Linked DNA regions of Homo sapiens: all the other regions are linked to region 1. The links are contacts of gene promoters, found by promoter capture Hi-C in human tissues and cell types (Jung and others, 2019). All regions are on one chromosome and are shown on one strand. Each heading gives the region's core, a stretch centred on a gene start or on the middle of the fragment in contact. The rest is flanking DNA. Distances are from core to core; before and after follow the strand shown.

Region 1 (3,045 bases), core at 180-2,679:
CTGAAGAGTTAGGGCGGGGTAGCAGGGTGGAGGATTTGAGACCCATACATTAGGAAAATGCAGGAGGAAGCCAGTCCCTATAGACAGTGTGAAAAAATTTAAAGCAGCAGCAATTAGACTGAAGTGTGTTTAGTGCTATAAGAAACTACCTAAGGACACCAAAATCAAACTCAAATTGAGGCAGGAAAATAGGGTCTGGACGCAGGGAACATAAGGCCTATTCAAACTTCAGCTATGAAAGGAAATACCTACTCCATAGGGCGTAAGCCAAGTAAATGATTTTATAACCTTACTTCATCCTCTCCTTTTACATAGAGTATACCCCAAGTAACCAATGGAATCCTCCAGGGGGTATTTAAACTCCCAAAAATTCTGTAACGGGGCCTTTGAGCCCCTGTGCTCAGCCCCGCTTGCACACTGTGGAGTGTTAAATCCCTTCATTCCTTCCTTGCTTTGTGCGTTTTGTCCAATTCTTTGTTCAAGACGCCAAGAACCTGGACCCCCTCCACCGTTAACAAAATGCAATTCTTCTTAAAACTTTCTGGTACCAAAACCACAAATCATGACTGGGCGTTTCTCACTCATGAATCGCTGTTTGCTCAAACTCTTTAAATTTTTTTTTTTTTTTGAGATGGAATCTCGCTCTGTCCCCTAGGTTGGAGTGCAGTGGCGTGATCTCGGCTCACTGCAACCTTCGTCTCCTGGGGTCATGCGATTCTCCTGCTTCAGCCTCCTGAGTAGCGGGGACTACAGGCGCATGCCACCATGCCCGGCTAATTTTTTGTATTTTTAGTAGAGACGGGGTTTCACTGTGTTAGCCTGGATGGTCTCGATCTCCTGACTTCGTGATCCGCAAGCCTCGGCCTCCCAAAGTGCTGGGATTACAAGCATGGTCCACCGCGCCCGGCCCAAACTCTTTAACAGAAAAAAAAATCCGCAGGATTCCCCCATGACCCTCCCGTGGTCCCCGCAAAATCTGAAGAGACGCGGGGCTGCAGGCGCGGAGCTGCCCAGAGAGGGCTCCAGGGTCGGGGCCCACAGTCGCCCGCGCAGGAACAGAACAGGAGGACGCCCGGGGTCCCGGCTGCCGGCCCAGCCGCACCCTGCGGCCGAGGGGACGCAGGGACGAGCTGAGACAGAGGGATTCGGGTCCCAGATCCAGGAGGCGCGGCGAGGAGGCCCAGATCCCACCACAGCCGCTTCCGGCCGGTTCCACCCAGCCCCTCCCCCGTCTGGGGACTCCGGCCCCATACACTCACCATTTCCCGGCTTCTGGGTGTCCCGGTGTCCTCTCTAGGGCTCCCGTGAATAGTGCGGGTCACGGTGCAGGCGGCAGAGCGACAGAAGTTGTGGCAGAGGGACCCGGGGCCTCTCGGAGTAGGAAATCTGGTATCCCGACAACAACCTGCATAGCAACAAAAGTAGAAGCTGGAATGGGCCTCCTCCTTCCGGACGGACCGTTGGCCGGGCTCCGCCCCGGCGCTTCTGATTGGACAAGGTACAAGGCCCCGCCCCCTCAGAACTGAGTGACGGCAGAAGCCCTGGGTAACGAGCCCTGCAAAGCCGGACTGATCGGTTCTAGCCACAGCTTCTCTCTAAGGGACAACTCCTTCCCTGAGCCCTGGTCATTGGATATTTTCTTTTCAGCCAAATTTGCTCCTGATTTTTACACAGGGCACTATCTTCTTCCTCATTCAATGGGCTGTCAGTGCTTCTTCGTCCTGCACAGGGTTGTAAGTGTGTGCAGGGAATTCCAGACTGAGTGTCCAATGGAGCGATGTGCTGACCTCAGAGCAGGAAGGGGAGCCCAGATCAGGCCAGGCACGACTGCACCAAGAAGGAGAGGCAGTTGTCCTTCAGGGGCCCGGAATTAGGGATGAGACATGGCCAAGGCTTTCACACATCTCACCCCACCTCACAGTGTGGAAACTCTCCCTCCTTCCAGACCTTCATCTTCATCGGCAGAAAACTCTCACTTGGTGATTTTAAGCTTCTGACCTAAATAAACTGTCAACTGCATAAGCCCCTTCTCCAGGAGAGGTCCCAAACAGTTATTTCCCTGAACTTGATCTTTACGGATTTTCTTCAGATATGCAAATTACAGTCTGACCCCAGGGACTCTATGCATGTCAAACCCAAAACACTGCTCCCGAAAACCGCCCCAGATTCCAGATGTACAGCCGCAGAAAGGACAGAACTCCTGAAGTGCACCTGCACGTGGGTCTCCTGCTTTCCAGGGCGCTGCAGCATGTCAGAACCCACACTCTTTCTGGATCTGCTCTGAGCAGCTGCAAGCCACCTGCAGGGGAGGGCGGCTGCCCAGGAAGCACCCAGAACTCCACTTCACTCCTTGGCAGGATCCATACTAGCCTCAGCGTCCCGTCCCTGGCGTCGGTCTCTGCTGCCCCCTGCAGGTTATTCACCTGCTTCTCACATCATTCATCAGTTTCCATGAGACAAACATCCTCAATCCCACTGCGAGAATAACACACGAGCAAAGCTCTCCTCCAGTGTGTATGTATAAAGTCGAGGAGGAAGTGTCCAAGATTATTTAACTGCATGAAAGTGAGGCAGTAGTGGCTGGGCGCTGTGGCTCAAGCCTGTAATCCCAGCACTTTGGGAGGGCGAGGTGGCTGGATCACCTGAGATCAGGAGTTGGAGACCAGCGTGACCAACATGGTGAAATCCCGTCTCTACTAAAAATACAAAAATTAGCCGGGTGTGGTAGAGCCCACCTGTAATCCCAGCTACTCGGGAGACTGAGGCAGAAGAATCGTTTGTATCAAAGAGGCTGAGGTTGCAGAGAGCCGAGATTGCACCACTGCACTACAGCCTGGGCAATAGAGCGAGACTCTGTCTCAAAACAAAACAAAAAAACACACAAATGTTTAGTCATGTTACTTATTTCTGGTTTCCAGCCTGACTTTATAACATTCCTGACTCTGGGACTCTCCAGCTCTCCAGAATTATGCTTTGAAGAAAAAACAAGATAGAGCACAGGGCCCACATGTCTCTTATAAACTGTGAACCAAAATATTACATAGC
Region 2 (3,045 bases), core at 277-2,776, 490 kb after region 1:
TGGAGAGAAACCCTATAAGTGTAAAGAATGTGGGAAAGCCTTTAGTAGAATCAGTTACTTTCGAATACATGAAAGGACTCACACTGGAGAGAAACCCTACGAATGTAAAAAATGTGGGAAAACTTTCAATTATCCTCTAGATTTGAAAATCCACAAGAGAAATCACACTGGAGAAAAACCCTATGAGTGTAAGGAATGTGCAAAAACCTTCATTTCTCTTGAGAACTTTCGAAGACACATGATCACCCACACTGGAGACGGACCTTATAAATGTAGGGACTGTGGGAAGGTGTTCATTTTTCCTAGTGCGTTACGAACACATGAAAGAACTCACACTGGAGAGAAACCCTATGAATGTAAACAATGTGGAAAAGCCTTTAGTTGTTCTAGTTACATTCGGATACATAAAAGAACTCACACTGGGGAGAAACCTTATGAATGTAAGGAATGCGGGAAGGCCTTTATTTATCCCACAAGCTTTCAAGGACACATGAGAATGCATACTGGAGAGAAACCCTATAAATGTAAAGAATGTGGGAAGGCCTTTAGTCTTCACAGTTCCTTTCAAAGACATACAAGAATTCACAATTATGAGAAACCTCTTGAATGTAAGCAATGTGGAAAAGCCTTCAGTGTGTCCACATCCTTAAAAAAACATATGAGAATGCACAATCGATAGAAACTCTATAAATGTGAGAAATAGGAGAAAGTTTTCAATTCTAACAGATGCTTTCAAAGTTGTGAAAATTCCCACTGAAGAGAGAAATCCTGTCAATGTAAGTAATATAGAAAGCGAGATACAAGATGATTCATGTATAGTCAGGTACCACATAATCATGTTTCAGTCAGCAATGGACCATATAGGTTGGTAGCCCCATAAGATTATATAACACCTAAAACATTTCTATCAACCGCAATTTAGTAGCAGTAGTAACACCATAGTGCAGCACATTATTTAAGTGTTTATGGTGCTGGTGTAAACGTGCTGCACTTTCAGTTGTATAAAAGTACAAGACAGCGGCCGGGGACGGTGGCTCACGCCTGTAATCCCAGCACTTTGGGAGGCCAAGGCGGGCGGATCACGAGGCCAGGAGATCAAGACCATCCTGGCTAACACGGTAAAACCCCATCTCTACTAAAAATACAAACAATTAGCCGGGCGTGGTGGTGGGCGCCTGTAGTCCCAGCTACTTGGGAGGCTGAGGCAGGAGAATGGCATAAACCCAGGAGGCCGAGCTGACAGTGAGCTGAGATCCGGCCAACAGAGCGAGACTCTGTCTCAAAAAAAAAAAAAAAAAAAAAGTACAACACAGCTGGGCATGGTCACACCTGTGATCCCAACACTGGGAGACTAAGGCAGTAGGATTGCTTGATGCCAGGACTACTCTGGTCAACCTAGTGAGACCCTGTCTCTACAAAAAATAAAAACATTTTCTAAGTGTGGTAGCACACCCTGTAGTCCCATCTACATGGGAGGCTGAGGCAGGAGGATTGCCTGAGCCCAGGAGTTCAAGGCTACAGTGAACCAAGATCACGTGATGGCAGTCCAGCATGGGTGACAGTGAGACTGTATCAAAAAAAAAAAAAAAAAATTGGCTGGGCACAGTGGCTCATACCTGTAATCCCAGCACTTTGGGAGGCTGAGGTGGGAGAATCAGTTGAGGTCAGGAGTTCAAGACCAGCCTGGTCAACATGATGAAACCCTGTCTCCATTAGAAATACGAAAATTAGCTGGGCGTTCTGGTGTGCCTGTAGTCCCAGCTACTTGGGAGGCCAAAGCAGGAGAATCGCTTGAACCCGGGAGGTGGAGATTGCAGTGAGCTGAGATCTACCACTACACTCCAGCCTGGGTGACAGAGCGAGACTCCGTCTCGAAAAAAAAAAAATTACAGCACAGATGTGCAATATATACTTGATAATAAATGGCTAAGTTACTGGTTTATATATTTACAATCCTGTTTTAGAATGTATTCCTGTGTTTTTTTAACAGTAAGACAGTCTCAGGCAGGTCCTTAAGGAGATATTCCCGGAAAAACTTTGTTATGATAGGCGATGACGGCTCCATGTGCAGGACTGCCCCTGAACGTATTCTGGCGGGACAAAACATGGAGGCAGAAGACAATGATATTGATGATCCTCACCCCGTGTAGTCCTACACTAATGTGTGTTTGTGTCTTAGTTAGTCTTTAACAAAAATAGTTTAAAAAAATTTAATAGAAAAAGCTTATAGAATATGGACATAAAATATTTTTGTACAGCTGTACAATGTGTTTTAAGCTAAATTATTACAAAGTTTTTAAAAATAAGTTTATAAAGAAAATAATGTACAGTAAGTTAAGGTTTATTCATTATTGAGGAAAAAATGTTTTTATGAATGTAGTGTAGTCCAAGTGTACAGTGTTTATAAATTCTCCATTAGTGTACAGTAACATCCTGGGCCTTCGCATTCACTCACCACTCAACTGACTCACCCAGAGCAACTTCTAGTCCTGCAAGCTATGTTCATGGAGTGTCCTATGCAGGTGCATCCTTTTTTATCTTTTATACTGCATGTTTACTCTGTGTATTTTCTGTGTTTAGACTCATAAATACTTAACATTTTGTTACAATTTCCTACAGTGTTCAGTACAACAACATGTTGTATGGTTTATAGCCTAGTAGCAATAGACTGTACCATATAGTCTAGATGTGTTGTAGCTATACCATCTAGATTTGTGTAAGTTCACTTTGTGATGTTTGTACCATGAGGAAATCACCTACAACACGTTTCTCAGAACATATACCCATGATTAAGCAATCTCTGCCTGTAAAATGCTCCAGAAAATTCACACCATGATATAAATTCATCACACACGATATAAAAGTTAAGGCAAGGCATGGTGGCTCATGCCTGTAATCCCAGCACTTTGGGAGGCCAAGGCAGGCAGATCACCTGAGGTCAGGAGTTCGAGACCAGCCTGGCCAAGACGGTGAAACCCCATCTCTACTAAAAATACAAAAATTACCTGAGCGTGGTGGCATGCACCTGTAATTCCAGCTACTTGG
Region 3 (3,045 bases), core at 341-2,840, 300 kb after region 1:
GGAGGAGTGACCCAGGGGATGATATTCACTAGACCCTCCAAGAGACTTGGCAGCTGTGGACATCCATTTTTTTTGAGACAGGGTCGGCCTCTGTTGCCTAGGCTGGGATGCAGAGGCACGATCATAGCTCACTGCAACTTCAAACTCCTGGGCTCCAGCCATCATCCCACCTCAGCCTCAGGAGTAGCTGCGACTACAGGTGCCAGCTACCAAGCCCAGCTAATTTTATTATTATCATTTACACTAGAGACAAAGTCTTGCCATGTTGCCCAGGCTGGTCTGGAACTACTGGGATCAAGCAATACCTCTGCCTTAGCCTCCCAAGGTGCTGGAATTACAGGAATGACCCACCGTGTTCAGGAACCCAAAACAATTCTTTCAAGAAAAAGCCATACATTGCTAGCTGAAAACAAGATGACAAACTAGTGAAATATCGCCTGGGGCCAAACAGTTCATACTGTTGCTGTGAATTAAGGACAGAAGGTTAGCCTGGGGAAGTCTCTGGAAACCAAGAGATTTGCTGCCAGCCCTAGGAAGAGTCAGGATGAGAGAACACAGTGGTGGATTTGAGACCCTGCTGCCCACGTCTTTGGAAGACTCAGAGGGGAAACGGTCGCCCTTGGAAAGGAAGAAAGGACTGAGGACCACGGAAACCACAGCTCCTCCCACACACAAACCCCACACACGAGTCTGGATTCCACCTGGTGACTCGTCGTCACCGTGCAGCCTCCTCACCGGGTTCACAGGAACTGCGAGCCAGGCTGGAGGCGAGATTGCAGTTAGATATTAAACAGGTGCCCTCAGCCCCGCTGCCTCAAGGGGCCGCCTCCCTGAGAGTCAGGTCACAGCAGACGCTGACCGCCGGCTTCCCCATTGTGCCTGGGGATAAGATCTCCGAGTGCTGCTCAAGAGTCGCCGGAGTTCTCAGATCCTGAATCCCAGCAGAAAGGCTGGCGCCAACCAGGTTGAAGACCCCACGAGGGAGCCCTCTCAGCAGAATGCGGTTTCTTCACCTCCTGTCCCAGGATTCACCCCTCACTTCCCCACCAACCAAGGACGCTACACCCAGCCGCCCCCGTCCAGACCCCAAATCCCTCAGGGAGGCGGATCTGGGGTGTCCTCCCCTCTCCTCCTGTTAAACCGTTTCTGCTGCAGCCCTCGGCGTCTCGGTGCAGTGAGTCGGGCCGCGAACCTGTGTTGGTTACAGCCGCACAATCTGGGGAGACCCGGGGCTGCGGGCTCGGAGCTGCCCAGAGAGGGCGCCGGGGCCGCAGTCGCCGCGCAGGAACGGGACAGGACGCCCGGGGTCCCGGCTGCATGCCCAGCCCCACCCTGCGGCCGAGGGCCGACCTACGCCAGGGGGACCCGGGTCCGTAGATCCCGAAGTCGCCCTTGGGGAGGCCCGGGTCCAGCCACAGCCGATTACGGCCGGTTCCACCTAACCCCTCCCCCGCCTCGGGACGCCGGCCCAGCACACGCACCATTTCCCGACTTCCGCGGTGTCCCAGGTCCTACCGACAGCTCCCGCTGCCAATGCGTGTTCCAGCCAGACAAAGGCTGCCTCAGAACTTCCAGGTCGTCTCTCAGCTACAGAACCCAGAGCCGAGCGCAGGTGGGTGGAGCAGACGCCGCGGGCTTTTTCAACCACACACACTTCTCTGGGCAGTGCCTGATTGACAGTTCCCACGAACCCGCCCCACGCCCCTGATTGGATAGGGCGTCAGGTCCCGCCCCCTGAGGGCTGATTGACAGAAGAAGCGATCTTGCACAGCTGAGTGGAGCCGGATGAGCAAGTTCCTGACACAGCCCTTGGCAGGGGGGGCTTCCTCCCTGCTCTTTGATCTGAATCCTCCCGGGTTATATTTGCACTTAAGCGGAATTTCCTGCCCGTACTCAATAGGACCTCCTGCTTCTTCCTCCTGGACACGGACTGACAAACTAATTATATCTTTTTTTTTTTTTTTCCTCGAGAGGGAGTCTTGCTCTGTCGCCCAGGCTAGAGTGCAATGGTGCGAGGCTCACTGCAACCTTCGCCTCCTGGGTGGGTTCAAGCAATTCTCCTGCCTCAGCCTCCCGAGTAGCTAGGATTACAGGCACGCGCCACCACCCGGCTAATTTTTGTATTTTTCAGTAGAGGCTGGGTTTCACCATGTTGGCCAGGCTGGTCTCAAACTCGTGACCTCGTGATCCGCCTACCTTGGCCTCCCAAAGTTCTGGGATTAGAGGCGTGAGCAACTGCGCCTGGCTCCAATTATGCTCTTTTTCAATGAAATTTTTCAAGATTTTTCAATGTACAATTAAATTATTTTTTACTATAGTCACTCTGTTGTGCTAGCAAATACTAGGTCTTATTCATTCTTTGTAACTATTTTTTATACCTATTAACCATCCCCACTTCCCCCATAACTACTCCTCGCTACTACTTTTCGCAGCCTCTGGTAACCATCCTTCTACACATTTTTGGTTGTTTGAGATGGGGTCTTGCTCTGTTACCTAGGCTGGAGTGCAGTGGGGCCATCATGGCTCACTGCAACCTCTACCTCCTAAGCTCAAGCAATCCTCCCACCTCAGCCTCTCAAGTAGCTTCAGATTGTTCACTGTTGGCATATAAAAATGTTATTGATTTTTGTGTGTTGATATTGTATACTGCAACTTTACTGAATTTATTTCTCAGTTCTAATACTTTTTTGGTGGAGTCTTTAGGTATTTCCAGATATAAGATCATATTATATGCAAACAAGGATAATTTGACTTCTTCCTTCCCAATATGGATGCCCTTTATTTCTTTTTTTTTCTTTTTTTTTTTTTTGTCTTATTGCTCTAGCTGGGACTTCAAGTACTGTGTTGAACAACAGTGGTAAAAGTGGGCATTCTTATTGTGTTCCAGATCTTACAGGAAGGGCTTTCAGTTTTTCCCCATTCATTATCATGCTAGCTGTGGGTCTGCCATATATAGCTTTTATTATGTTAAGGTATGCTCCTTCTTTACCCACTTTTTTTTAGGGTTTTTATCATGAAGGGATGTTAAATATTATCAAAAGCTTT
Region 4 (3,045 bases), core at 178-2,677, 260 kb after region 1:
CTTGCCATGTTGCCCAGGCTGGTCTGGAACTACTAAGATTAAGCAATACCTCTGCCTTAGCCTCCCAAGGTGCTGGAATTACAGGAATGACCCACCGTGTTCAGGAACCCAAAATAATTCTTTCAAGAAAAAGCCATACATTGCTAGCTGAAAACAAGATGACAAACTAGTGAAATATCGCCTGGGGGCCAAACAGTTCATACCGTTGCTGTGAATTAAGGACAGAAGGTTAGCCTGGGGAAGTCTCTGGAAACCAAGAGATTTGCTGCCAGCCCTAGGAGGAGTCAGGATGAGAGAACACAGTGGTGGATTTGAGACCCTGCTAACCACATCTTTGGAAGACTCAGAGGGGAAACGGTCGCCCTTGGAAAGAAAGAAGGGACTGAGGACCACGGAGACCACAGCTCCTCCCACACACAAACCCCACACACGAGTCTGGATTCCACCTGGTGACTCGTCGTCACCGTGCAGCCTCCTCACCGGGTTCACAGGAACTGCGAGCCAGGCTGGAGGCGAGATTGCAGTTAGATATTAACCAGGTGCCCTCAGCCCCGCTGCCTCAAGGGGCCGCCTCCCTGAGAGTCAGGTCACAGCAGACGCTGACCGCCGGCTTCCCCATTGTGCCTGGGGATAAGATCTCTGAGAACTGCTCAAGAGTCGCCGGAGTTCTCAGATCCTGAATCCCAGCAAAGGCTGGCGCCAATCAGGTTGAAGTCCCAACGAGGGAGCCCATTCAGCAGAATGCGGTTTCTTCACCTCCTGTCCCAGGATTCACCCCTCACTTCCCCACCAACCAACGACCCTACACCCAGCCGCCCCCGTCCAGACCCCAAATCCCTCAGGGAGGCGGATCTGGGGTGTCCTCCCCTCTCTGGCTATTAAACTGTTTCTGCTGCAGCCCTCAGCGTCTCGGTGCAGTGAGTCGGGCCGCGAACCTGTGTTGCTTACAGCCGCACAATCTCGGGAGACGCGAGGCTGCGGGCGCGGAGCTGCCCAGAGAGGGCGCCGGGGCCGCAGTCGCCGCGCAGGAACGGGACAGGACGCCCGGGGTCCCGGCTGCATGCCCAGCCCCACCCTGCGGCCGAGGGCCGACCTACGCCAGGGGAACCCGGGTCCGTAGATCCCGGAGTAGCCCTTGGGGAGGCCCGGGTCCAGCCACAGCCGATTACTGCAGGTTCCACCCAGCCCCTCCCCCGCCTCGGGACGCCGGCCCAGCACACGCACCATTTCCCGACTTCCGCGGTGTCCCAGGTCCTCCGGACGGCTCCCGCTGCCAATGCGGGTTCCCGCGGGACACAGGCTGCCACGGAACTTCCAGGTCGTCTCTTAGCTACAGAGCCGAGCACCGAGCGCCCAGCGCAGGTGGGTGGAGAAGACGCCGCGGGCTTTTTCAACCACACACTCCTCTGGGAAGCGCGCCTGATTGACAGTTCCCACGAACCCGCCCCACGGCCCTTACTGGATACGGCGTCAGGTGCCGCCCCTCGTGGACTGATTGACAGAAGAAGCGATCTTGCACAGCTGAGTGGAGCCAGATGAGCAAGTTCCTGACACAGCCCTTGGCAGGGCGGGCTTCCTCCCTGCTCTTTGATCTGAATCCTCCCGAGGGATATTTGCACTTAAGCGGAATTTCCTGCCTGTACTCAATAGGACCTCCTGCTTCTTCCTCCTGTACACTGACTGACAAAACAATTATACTTTTTTTTTTTTTTTTTTTTTTTTTTCCGAGAGAGAGAGAGAGAGAGAGAGAGAGAGAGGGAGTCTTGCTCCGTGGCTCAGGCTAGAGTGCAATGGTGCGAGGCTCACTGCGACCTCCGCCTCCTAGGTGGGTTCAAACAATTCTGCCTCAGCCTCCCGAGTAGCTGGGATTACAGGTGCGCGCCACCACACCCGGCTAATTTTTGTATGTTTTAGTAGAGGCCGGGTTTCACCATGTTGGCCAGGCTGGTCTCGAACTCCTGACCTCGTGATCCGCCCACCTTGGCCTCCCAAAGTTCTGGGATTAGAGACGTGAGCCATCGCGCCTGGCTCCAATTATACTCTTTTTCAATGAAATTTTTCAAAATATTTCAATGTACAATTAAATTATTTTTTACTATAGTCACTCTGTTGTGCTAGCAAATACTAGGTCTTATTCATTCTTTGTAACTATTTTTTATACCTATTAACCATCCCCACTTCCCCCATAACTACTCCTCGCTACTACTTTTCCCAGCCTGTGGTAACCATCCTTCTACACGTTTTTGGTTGTTTGAGATGGGGTCTTGCTCTGTTGCCTAGGCTGGAGTGCAGTGGGGCCATCATGGCTCACTGCAACCTCTACCTCCCAAGCTCAAGCAATCCTCCCACCTCAGCCTCTCAAGTAGCTTCAGATTGTTCACTGTTGGCATATAAAAATGTTACTGATTTTTGTATGTTAATATTGTATCCTGCAACTTTACTGAATTTATTTCTCAGTTCTAATACTTTTTTGGTGGAGTCTTTAGGTATTTCCAGATATAAGATCATATTATATGCAAACCAGGATAATTTGACTTCTTCCTTTCCTTCCCAATATAGATGCCCTTTATTTCTTTTTTTTTTTTTTTTTGGACTTATTGCTCTAGCTGGGACTTCGAGTACTGTGCTGAACAACAGTGGTAAAAGTGGGCATTCTTATTGTGTTCCAGATCTTACAGGAAAGGCTTTCAGTTTTTCCTCATTCATTATCATGCTAGCTGTGGGTCTGCCATATATGGCTTTTATTATGTTAAGGTAGCTGCTTCTATACCCAGTTTTTTTTTAGGGTTTTTATCATGAAGGGATGTTAAATATTATCAAAAGCTTTTTCAGTGCACATTGAAATGATTATATGGTGTTTGCCCTTTATTCTGTTGAAATGATACATCACATTGATTGATTTGCATATATTGAACCATCCTTGCATCCCAGGGATAAAGCCCACTTGGTCATGATGAATGATCTTTTTGGTGTATTGTTAAATTCAGTTTGCTAGTATTGAGTTGAGGATTTTTGCATCAATATTCATCAGTGACACTGGCCTAT

Evidence for each region. Contacts are between HindIII fragments. The study calls those that stand out against the background at their distance.
Region 2: a contact is called between a fragment that was not itself captured here and the fragment with the promoter of ZNF20 in region 1, in 1 of the 25 tissues and cell types used here (bladder).
Region 3: a contact is called between the fragment with the promoter of ZNF443 here and the fragment with the promoter of ZNF20 in region 1, in 1 of the 25 tissues and cell types used here (adrenal gland).
Region 4: a contact is called between the fragment with the promoter of ZNF799 here and the fragment with the promoter of ZNF20 in region 1, in 1 of the 25 tissues and cell types used here (mesenchymal stem cells).

What each region holds. Positions count from the first base shown.
Region 1 is chr19:12,138,921-12,141,965 of GRCh38, forward strand. It overlaps ZNF20 (zinc finger protein 20), which reads right to left and starts at 1,430. Exons shown (of 4, transcript NM_021143.4): 1 at 1,260-1,430. The coding sequence starts at 1,262. It overlaps ZNF625-ZNF20 (ZNF625-ZNF20 readthrough (NMD candidate)), which reads right to left. Exons shown (of 8, transcript NR_037802.1): 5 at 1,260-1,405. RefSeq lists a silencer at 1,007-1,216. The HindIII fragment of the contact is 9,607 bases long and covers 1-3,045 here.
Region 2 is chr19:12,628,582-12,631,626 of GRCh38, forward strand. ZNF791 (zinc finger protein 791) reads left to right here. Exons shown (of 4, transcript NM_153358.3): 4 at 1-3,045. The coding sequence ends at 679. Among named protein-coding and RNA genes, the nearest start is that of ZNF791, 19 kb to the left of the region's middle. The HindIII fragment of the contact is 6,065 bases long and covers 1-3,045 here.
Region 3 is chr19:12,439,431-12,442,475 of GRCh38, forward strand. It overlaps ZNF443 (zinc finger protein 443), which reads right to left and starts at 1,591. Exons shown (of 4, transcript NM_005815.5): 1 at 1,482-1,591. The coding sequence starts at 1,484. RefSeq lists a silencer at 1,270-1,359 and an enhancer at 1,770-2,039. The HindIII fragment of the contact is 16,773 bases long and covers 1-3,045 here.
Region 4 is chr19:12,399,844-12,402,888 of GRCh38, forward strand. It overlaps ZNF799 (zinc finger protein 799), which reads right to left and starts at 1,428. Exons shown (of 4, transcript NM_001080821.3): 1 at 1,225-1,428. The coding sequence starts at 1,227. RefSeq lists enhancers at 723-812, 1,533-1,582 and a silencer at 1,043-1,202. The HindIII fragment of the contact is 18,323 bases long and covers 1-3,045 here.